Linked DNA regions of Homo sapiens: all the other regions are linked to region 2. Evidence: promoter capture Hi-C in 16 types of primary human blood cells and fetal thymus (Javierre and others, 2016). All regions are on one chromosome and are shown on one strand. The core of a region is centred on a gene start or on the middle of the fragment in contact, and the rest is flanking DNA. Distances in the headings are between cores, read along the strand shown.

Region 1 (3,139 bases), core at 394-2,893, 250 kb after region 2:
AATATGCTATTCTGTAGTATTTTATTATACTGTTTTCCCCAAAAGATAGATAGAAATTAAAGTACTAAGTTCAGTTGGTAACTCTTTTTTTTTTTTTTTATTTTTGAGATGGAGTTTTGCTCTTTTTGCCCATGCTAGAGTGAAGTGGCGCGATCTCGGCTCACTGCAACCTCTGACCCCCTGCTGGGTTCAAGCGATTCTCCTGCCTCAGCCTCCCAAATAGCAGGGACTACAAGCATGTGCCACCATGCCCAGCTAATTTTTTTGTATTTTTAGTAGAGACGGGGTTTCACCGTGTTGGCCAGGCTGGTCTCGAACTCCTGACCTCGGGTGATCCACCTGCCTCGGCCTCCCAAAGTACTGGGATTACAGGCATGAGCCACCACGCCTGGCCCGATAAGTCTTAATATGCTACTCTGTAGTATTTTATTGTACTTTTTTCCCCAAAAGATAGATAGAAATTGAAGTACTAAGTTCAGTTGATAACTCTTTTTTTTTGTGGAGACAGAGTCTCCCTCTGTGGCTCAGGCTGGAGTTCAGTGGCATGATCTCAGCTCACTGCAACCTCCACCTCCCGGATTCAAGTGATTCAGGTGAGCGCCACCACGCCTGGCTAATTTTTGTATTTTTAGTAGAGATGAGGTTTCACCATATTGGCCAGGCTGGTCTTGAACTCCTGACCTCGTGATCTGCCCGCCTCGGCCTCCCAATGTGTTGGGATTACAGGCGTGAGCCACTGTGCCCGGCCCAATAACTCTTATTTATGCAATAAATAAATATGTCAGTTTTAAGCTGAGTCAGGTTTGCACCCACCTTGGTCAAGGGAGGGATCTTAACACTTTGAGACCCAGAGACTTTGAATGCTGTGGGAATGGCTGTCACCAGCACGTGGCTTGATCAGGGCTTTCTTCTCCTTGCAGTTGTGGCCCCATCAAAGTGAAAACTGAACCCACAGAAGATTCTGGTATGTACTAGCACTTTTAGAATCAATGGTGAAATTAAGGAAGACTTTTCCTTAGTGTAGAAGTTTATAGTTTGACTCAATTATTGTTTTGTTTTGATAAGAAAGAGGCAGTCACTACTAATGTATTCCAACTGTGACACTATTTGTTAATGTTATCACATTAAGACCCAGAAAGGTAATTTGCTCAGTAAGTGGTAGGCAGAGTTCTTTGCCAGTTACATATGTTTGTAGATAAAATGTATTTTTTTTTCCCGTTGTACAGACATATAATGTAAGAGGTCAGCTGTTCTATAGTGCTTTTTACAAAAATCAATAGAATGCCCCCTTCGTCTCCACCTTCCTTCTCTGCACTCCTGTTTTCCACTCTCCAAGGAGACCATTTTCAATTCTCAAATAAAATTGCTATTTAATTCCTTATTTATTTATTTATTTTTTGAGATGGAGTCTTGCTTTGTCACCCAGACTGAAGTGCAGTGGCACGACCTCGGCTCACTGCAACCTCTGCCTCTGGGTTCAAGCGATTCTCCCACCTCAGCCTCCCGAGTAGCTGGGATTACAGGCATACGCCATCACGCACGACTAATTTTTGTATTTTTAGTAGCGACGGGGTTTCGCCAGGTTGGCCTGGCTGGTCTTGAACTCCTGACCTCAAGTGATCCTCCTGCCTCAGCCTTCCAAAGTCCTAGGATTACAGGCATAAGCCACCGTGCCCGGCCCCCGTTTATAATTCTGTTCTGTCCTAGAACCGTGGCACCCAGATGTTCTCAGCATATGTATTTATTTCATCATTTCCCAGTGTTATCCTGTGTCCTAGTGCCACTGTCAAGCCTCCCGCTGCTCGGCCCTGTGCCCCTTATTCACACGGGACACTCCTTAGTGGGCTGTCACCGCCCTGCCTGCCCCCTCATCTCCCTCTGTCTGACCAGGCCCTCGGCAGCTTCCCCAGCCCCTTCCCCGGCCCTTTGTCAGCCTTCTCATTCTGCCATGCTTCCTGGGCAGCCACCTGCCCCGCTTCACCCCATCTAAGGGCATCTCGAATGAGTTGTTGGGGAGGAGGGTAGGGCCGCGTTAACGTGTGTGTGCGTGCATGTGAATGAGAGCTTTTATGTATGTAAGTGTATTTTGGGAGAGCTGCAAGAAAGTGTTGAATTATCCTTTTTTGGAAAAGGTATTTGAGTCTTTTACACTGTTTGCTGGTTTTACAGAAGGTTTTTCTTTTTTCTTTATTTTCACTCCATAGGAAATCTCAAATTTTTGTGTGGTTTTCAGTAGATTGTGCCAAAAAAAATCATCATTTTGCAAATGTTTCCCCTTAATTCATATATTCATCTCCTGAATATTTAGTTTGCTTCTAAAAAGAAACATGCTGAATTCAGAAACCCCATGTGTTTAATTGAATTCTTTCAACTGTCTTTATGTACACATCAGCATCATTATAGGTTTTTTTTTTTCTCTTTTACACTTTGCATCTTTGTATTCTTAATTTATCCTGCAAATAAGATGTACATTTATAGCCAGGGTGCAGCCAGGAGACAGAAACCATATCAGTTATTGGAACAGAGAAAATTTAATGTAAAGATTGTTGGCCGGGTGCAGTGGCTCACACCTGTAATCCCAGCACTTTGGGAGGCTGAGGCGAGTGGATCACCTGAGGTCAGGAGTTGGAGACCGGCCTGGCCAACATGGTGAAACCCAGTCTCTACTAAAAATACAAAAAAAATTAGCAGGGCATGGTGGTGGGCGCCTGTAATCCCAGCTACTCAAGAGGCTGAGGGAGGAGAATCGTTTGAACTCAGGAGGTAGAGGTTACATTGAGTCAAGATCGTGCCATTGCACTCCAGCCTGGGCAACAAGAGTGAAACTCCATCTCAAAACAAAACAAACAAAAACAGATTGTTAACTGGTTATAAAATTGTTAACTTTGTAACCTTAAGGAGAATACTAAGGTTTTTTTTAAGGAACAATTCTAGGCAGTGGCTGCCACCCCATCAGCTTTCCATCTGACTTCTGAGGTGGGGTAGTGTTTGGCTGGTGCTGGTGGCTGAGGGGCATGGTGAGGCTGCTTCTGGTAGTGTTGGAGACATTGCCAGCCGGGCACAGCTGTTGTGATGGGAGGGCCTGCTTTGGCCAGGCTGAACGAGGGTACCAAGGAGTGACCTTTTTGGGATGAGAATG
Region 2 (3,383 bases), core at 884-3,383:
TTCTTATGCCTCAGCCTCCTAAGCAGCTGGGATCACAGGTGCCTGCCACCACGCCCGGCTAATTTTTGTGTTTTTAGTAGAGACAGGGTTTCACCATGTTGGCCAGGCTGATCTTGAATGCCTGACCTCAAGTGATCCACCTGCCTCGGCCTCCCAAAGTGTTAGGATTACAGGCATGAGCCACCGTGCCTGGCCTAATTTTTGAAACACAGTCTCACTCTGTCACCCAGGCTGGAGTGCAGTGGCTGAATCTTGGCTCACTGCAGCCTCCACCTCCTGGGTTCCAGTGATTCTCATGCGTCAGCCTTCTGAGTAGCTGGGATTACAGGCATGCACCACCACACCCGGCTAATTTTTGTATTTTTAGTGACCAGGTTTCGCTGTGTTGGCCATGCTGGTCTTGAACTCCTGACCTCAAGCAATCCACCCACCTTCGCCTCCCAAAGTGCTGGGATTACAGGCATGAGCCACTGAGCCCAGCCAAAAGCGTCTTATTAATGCAGAGCTAGCCAAGCAGTAGGACTGGAGTTATTACTCAAATAAATCTCCCCAAGAACTCAGAGGCTAGGGTTTTTATGGATAATTTGGTGGGCAAGGGCCCAGGGAATGGGTACTGCTGATTGGTTGGAGATGAAATCACAGGGGTGTGGCAAACGGTCCTTATGCACTGAGTCGGTCTCTGAGTGGGGGCCACAGGATGGGCTGAGTCATGAGTCACACAGGTCCAGGTGAGTCAGTCGGTTGCCCGAATGCGAAAGTCTGAAAAACATCTCCAAAGACCAATCTCAGTTTCCACAATAGAGATGCTATCTATAGGAGGAAGTGGGGAACTCACAAATCTTGTGATCTCTCGCCACATGACTCCTGAGCAGTCAGATTATAAAAACGATGCGTAGGTTTTAGCAGCGTCCAGGCCCCTCCCATAATCCTAATCTCACGGCCTTTCGTTAGTTTTACAAAGGTGGTTTTGGTCTCTTGTATAAAAAGCAGGTTAGGTTTAAGGAGTAACTATTATCATCCTTGTTTCAAAGTTGAACTATAAACTAAATTCCTCCCCCGGTTAGCTTGGCCTATGCCCCGGAATGAGTGAAGACAGCCAGCGCGTGAGGCTGGAAGCAAGATGGAGTCAGCCACGCTAAACTTCTGTCACTGTCCTAATCTTTGCAAAGGCAGTTTGGCCAGGAGGCTGTGGGGAGACCTTGTGGGTTTTGCCAGGACCTGGGAGATTCTCGATCTATGTTTGGCTGTCCTTCTAAGCCAGAAGCTCCCTGGGGTTGGGGCCTGCCTGGGGTGAGTCCCTCCCTCCCTGCCATGCCCAGTCTAGCCAAGGTCTAGTTCAGGGATCAGGGCACCACGTGGGGGAAGGACTGTGTTCCTTGTGCTGAATTAGGATTTATGGCTTTGGGGCCGGATGGGAGGCGTGCGCACTGATTCAGTAGGAGCGCTGCTGTGGTGTGTGTGTGGTTGGTGGGAGCGGGGCGGGCGGGGGGCGGGGGGGCTGGTTGGGGGGACAGGGGTAAAAGCCTATCAGAGGGAGGTCCCATCAGACAAGATGGGACCAAGAGTCCAGTTGGCTCTGCTGCGACTTTCGGCCTGTCACTGCCTTCCTGCACATCTCAGGGGTGGGAGGGGGACAAAGGCTGTAAGAGTAAGAGGTACCTGGCCCAAGCCTTAGGACTAGAACCCGGGCCAGGCGGGAGTGACCAGCCGGGACACTCAGGGCCTCCGCGCGTTCCAGCTGGGTGACCTTGACCCTCCAACTTCAGCCCCCTGCGCCCGGCTGCTCTCCCAGTGGTGGTGGGGAGCGGTGGGGGTAGACGGGGGCGCGCCCAGGCTTTTCTAATCCGGCGCTGGTGGGGGAGAACCGAGGGCGCCACCGCCCCTCCCCGCAGGTCCGGGGCCGAGGGGTGCGGCGCGCTCTCCCCACCGCGGTGCCCAGGTCCCCGGGACGCAGGGGCGCTGGGTAGCAAGGGGGGTGCGCAGGGGCGCGGGGCGCGGGGCGGGCTAATCCCGTATGTAAATGGCAGCCAATGGAGGGTGGTGTTGCGCGGGGCTGGGATTAGGGCCGGGGCGAATGGCTGGCAATCTTACTGGGATTACAGAACAAAGAGCCTCCCCGCGCTCCCGCTCTCCGCTCCTCTCCCCGCGCCGCCCCGCCCTCCGCCGCAGCCCGCGCCGGGGGTGGGGGCCGCCGAGCGCCAGCCCCCCGGCCGGCCGATTCCCCCCCCGCGCCCCCTCCCCGCGCCTCCCTCCCCGCCCTCGCCGCGCCGCCGTCCTCGCCTCCCTCTGCCTCTCCTTCCCCCATTCTCCCGGATTAATTAAGGAGGCAGCGGCAGGAGGCTGAGTCCTGGCCGCGGGCCGGGGCCGGGGCGCCGCTGGCAGGAGCGCTTGGGGATCCTCCAAGGTAGGAGAAACTTTTGCGGGGGGCGGGCACCGAGGCCCTTCTCCCCTTCTCCCCCACCCCCGCCCCCGATCCCCTCCGCCTCCGGGGGGGGGGGTCCCCGCCCCTCCCCCTCTCAAGGTGTTACAGGAGCTGGGGCCGGCTTTTGGGTGCCCGGGGAGGCACGTGACTGGGATTATAATTCGGGCCCGGGGGGAGGGGAGGGACGGCCGCCCCCCACCTGCCCGGGAGGGGCCGGGAGCTGGGAGCTGTCACCCCCTCCCTCCTTGCCACCGGCTCTTCTGGAGGTGGGGGGCGTCCCGGGCCGGCGCCCGCAGGCTGCTGCAGTTGGCGAATGAGGTCAGTCGCGCTGCCCGCGGTGGCGGGCGCCGGGGTGGGAGCAGAGGGGGCTGGGAAGGCCGCGGTCCCCGCCTTTCCCCCCTCCACCTTCTCCCGGTCTGGGCCAGCCCCTGGCCCGCGCCCCCAACTCCCAGGCGGAGTCCAGTCCAGCCAGGATTGCCCCAGCAGGGTGGTTCCTGTAGTGGACCCCCCGCCCCGGCCCCGGGGAGGGGGCTGGCCTGTGTGGTGGTGGCCGCTGAATCCCGGGTGGAGGGGACTCAGAAGGTGGCAGTGGGGGGACCACAAAGGGTTCAGAGGAGTAAGTTGGGGATACTCGGTCTGTGGGTGGTCTCTGAGTTCCTGCAGATGGGTGGAGAGGACAGAGGAGGGGCCACAGGGTGCTGAACACCCACCCGCCCCATCCTAAGTACCCTGGGCATGATGGGCTTGACACCTCTCCTGGGCTCCTCACCCCTGGCCAGCAGCCAGGGAGTGAGACCCTGCCTCGCCTGGCGTGGGCCCAGGGAAGGGGGCCGCTGTGCCGCTGAGAGTTCGTTCCACCCTCCTGGCAGTGCTGGAGGGGGCTGGAGCTCTGGCGTCTGGCCTAGTGACCCTACCTCCCAGGACCAAGGTCCTGCGGTGGGAGTCTCCTGTGTCCCCATCC
Region 3 (3,359 bases), core at 16-2,515, 180 kb after region 2:
GCCTGGGGTGGTGGGTGGTGAAGAAAATTAACTAATGAAGAGGGGCACAGGAAACTTTCTAGAGCAATGGAAGTGTTGCATATATTTTTTTTTGACGGAGTCTTGCTCTGTCGCCCAGGCTGGAGTGCAGTGTTGTGATCTCGGCTTACTGCGACCTCCACCTCCTGGGTTCAAGCCATTCTCCTGCCTCAGCCTCCGGAGTAGCTGGGATTTCAGGCACGGCATGCGCCAGCACGCCCGGCTAATTTTTGTATTTTTAGTAGAGACAGGGTTTCACCATGTTGGCCAGGCTGGGCTCAAACTCCTGACCTCAGATGATCTGCCTGCCTCGGCCTCCCAAAGTGCTGGGATTACAGGCATGAGCCACCGCACCCAGCCCTGTATCTTGATTATGGTGGGGGTGACACGGGTGAGTGAAAATATTTGCTAAGGCTCCTTTAAGTAAACACATAAAAACGAATGCATTTTATTCTGTGTAAATAAAATACTTGAATAAAGTTGTTAAAAAAAAAAAAAAGCAGCAGCAGCTTAGTCCAGCTTCCCTGAGTGGGTGGTGTAATTTCGCCTGGAAGCGGAGGCTGGAATGACAGGCATCTTGGCCAACGTGTTCAGCACAAACCAGTCAACTGGCACAGAGGGCCCATTGTGATCAGACCACAGACTCTTCAGACAGAGCTGCATCTTCCCCTGCGCCCCGGCCAGCGCTGGCTGTGTGCCATTCCCTCTGCACCCTGTGCACCTTGACACAGTAGATCTCTGCACAAGCCCTTCTCTTTGCCTCCTTACCCCCTACCCTCCACCTTCTTCACCAGGAAAGTTCTATGCATTGTTCAAATGCCCCCACTCCCCACCTCCTCTGGGCTCTTTTTTTTTTGAGACAGAATCTCACTCTGTAGCCCAGGCTGGAGTGCAGTGGCACAATCTCGGCTCACTGCAACCTCCGCCTCCCGGGTTCAAGTGATTCTCTTGCCTCAGCCTCCTGAGTAGCTGGGACTATAGGCATGTGCCAACACACCCGGCTAATTGTTGTAGTTTTAGTAGAGACGGGGTTTCACCATGTTGGCCAGGCTGGTCTCAAACTCCTGACGTCAAGGGATCCGCCTACCTTGGTCTCCCAAAGTGTTGGCATTACAGCGATGAGTCACCATGCCCGGCCTTTGGGATCTTATGACAGGTGCCCTAGTCAGACTATATTATGACCTGTTTACAACTCTGTCCCCCAACAAGTCTGTAAACTATTTCTTTTTCTTTTTTTTTTTGAGACAGAGTCTCACTCTGTCTCCGAGGCTGGAGTGCAGTGGCGTGATCTCGGCTCAGTGCAACCTCTGTCTCCCAGGTTCAAGCGATTCTCCTGTCTCAGCCTCCCAAGTAGCTGAGACTACAGGTGCCCACTACCACGCCCAGCTAATTTTTGTGTTTTTAGTAGAGACGTAGTTTCACCATGTTGGCCAGGCTGGTCTCAAACTCCTGATCTTAGGTGATCTGCCCACTTCAGCTTCTCAAAGTGCTGGTATTCCAGGCAGGAGCCACCATGCCCGGCCTCTGGGCTCTTATTACAGATGCCATAGTCAGATTGTATTATAACCTGTTCACAACGCTGTCCTCCCACAAGTCCGTAAACTTCTTGAGGTCACAGATGGTACCATTTTTATCTCTGCATCCCCAAAGCACCTAACACATTCCCTAAAACACAGCAATAAAACATTCCTTGCATCCTTGTCAAGCAATGGTGTCAGCCCTTTACACGCTTTGTTTATTTATTTATTTATTTATTTATTTATTGACGGAATTTATTTAGAGACAGCCTGTTGCCCAGGCTGGAGTGTGATGGTGTGATCATAGCTCACAGCAGCCTCGAGCTCCTGCACTCAAGCAATCCTCTCACTTCAGCCTCCTGAGTAGCTGGGGCCACGGGTGTGTGTCTCCAAACCCAGCTAACTTAAAAATTTATTTTTTGCAGACAGAGGGTCTCCCTATGTGGCCCAGGCTGATCTCAAACTCCTGGGCTCAAGCAGTCCTCCCACCTCAGCCTCCCAAAATGTGGGGATTACAGGCATGAGCTACCGGGACCAGCTAATTTTTAAAATTTTTCTTTTTCTTTTTTTTTTTGAGACGGAGTCTCGCTCTGTCGCCCAGGCTGGAGTGCAGTGGCGGGATCTCGGCTCACTGCAAGCTCCGCCTCCCGGGTTCACGCCATTCTCCTGCCTCAGCCTCCCAAGTAGCTGGGACTACAGGCGCCCGCCACTACACCTGGCTAATTTTTTGTATTTTTAGTAGAGACGGGGTTTCACCGTTTTTTAGCCGGGATGGTCTCAATCTCCTGACCTCGTGATCCGCCCGCCTCGGCCTCCCAAAGTGCTGAGATTACAGGCGTGAGCCACCGCGCCCGGCCAAATTTTTCTTTTTTGTAGAGATGGGGTCTCCCTATGTCGCCTGGGCTGGTGTCAAATTCCTGACCTCGAGTGATCCTCCTGCCTTGGCTTCCTAAAGGGCTGAGATTACAAGTGTGAGCCACTGTGCCTGGGCAACTCAAGTCCCCTTCACCTTCAGTCATTCAGTCAACAAACACCAAATACTTGCTCCACACTAGGCATGCCCCAGGCCAATGAATGAGGCTTGGTCCCCGCCCTTAGTGAGCTTATATAAGAGGAAGACTCACAAACAGTGGGCTTTTTGGATGGAAACATGAATGAATGAATGAATGAATGAGTGAATACAAGCTGCCTTTCCTCTCCACTGCTGTCTGGGTGATCACGCAGTATGTGCGGCAGGTGCCTATCCCGTCCCATTCCACGTCCGCTCTGGAGGGTCCTAATCTAGGACACCTTAGCGTATCTCATAGATGGCCAGCTATGGATCTAAGATTCATTGGGCCAATGGATTTGTACTTTTTTGGTGGGCTAATAGTCACAGCTGTGTCTCTCTATTTTATTTTATTATGTTATTATCTTTTATTTTTTATTCTTTTTTGAGACAGGGTCTCTGTCACCCAGGCTGGAGTGCAGTGGTGTGATCTCAGCCCACTGCAACGTCTGCCTCCTGGGTTCAAGCGATTCTCGTGCATCCACCTCCCGAGTAGCTGGGACATCCGGCTAATTTTTGTATTTTCAGTAGAGACGGGGTTTCGCCATGCTGGCCAGACTGGTCTTGAATTCTAGACATCAAGTGATTCACCTGCCTCGGCCTCCCAGAGTGGCAGGATTACAGGGGTGAGCCACTGTACCTGGCCTGTTTTTGTATTTTATTATCAAAATCTAGTGGATTTTATTAACTAGGCTTATGTTGAGGGCCGGACGCGGTGGCTCATGTCTGTAATCCCAGCACTTTGGGAGGCTGAGGTGGGCAGATCACCTGAGGCC

The links. The method cuts DNA at HindIII sites, captures the fragments that hold promoters and counts their contacts. A CHiCAGO score of 5 or more calls a contact.
Region 1: a contact is called between a fragment that was not itself captured here and the fragment with the promoter of GTF2IRD1 in region 2, in 2 of 17 cell types (activated CD4 T cells and non-activated CD4 T cells). The highest score is 6.9, in activated CD4 T cells.
Region 3: a fragment that was not itself captured here is called in contact with the fragment with the promoter of GTF2IRD1 in region 2 in 6 of 17 cell types (activated CD4 T cells, fetal thymus, endothelial precursors and 3 more); the score reaches 7.1 in activated CD4 T cells.

The regions. Positions count from the first base shown.
Region 1 is chr7:74,705,470-74,708,608 of GRCh38, forward strand. It overlaps GTF2I (general transcription factor IIi), which reads left to right. Exons shown (of 35, transcript NM_032999.4): 8 at 921-964. All of the region lies in intron 2 of GTF2I-AS1 (GTF2I antisense RNA 1), which reads right to left. Among named protein-coding and RNA genes, the nearest start is that of GTF2I-AS1, 22 kb to the right of the region's middle. The HindIII fragment of the contact is 6,850 bases long and covers 1-3,139 here.
Region 2 is chr7:74,451,773-74,455,155 of GRCh38, forward strand. GTF2IRD1 (GTF2I repeat domain containing 1) reads left to right here and starts at 2,134. Exons shown (of 27, transcript NM_005685.4): 1 at 2,134-2,404. RefSeq lists an enhancer at 430-949 and silencers at 1,835-2,184, 2,687-2,756. The HindIII fragment of the contact is 10,217 bases long and covers 1-3,383 here.
Region 3 is chr7:74,635,227-74,638,585 of GRCh38, forward strand. No RefSeq gene overlaps it. Among named protein-coding and RNA genes, the nearest start is that of GTF2I, 21 kb to the right of the region's middle. The HindIII fragment of the contact is 7,732 bases long and covers 1-3,359 here.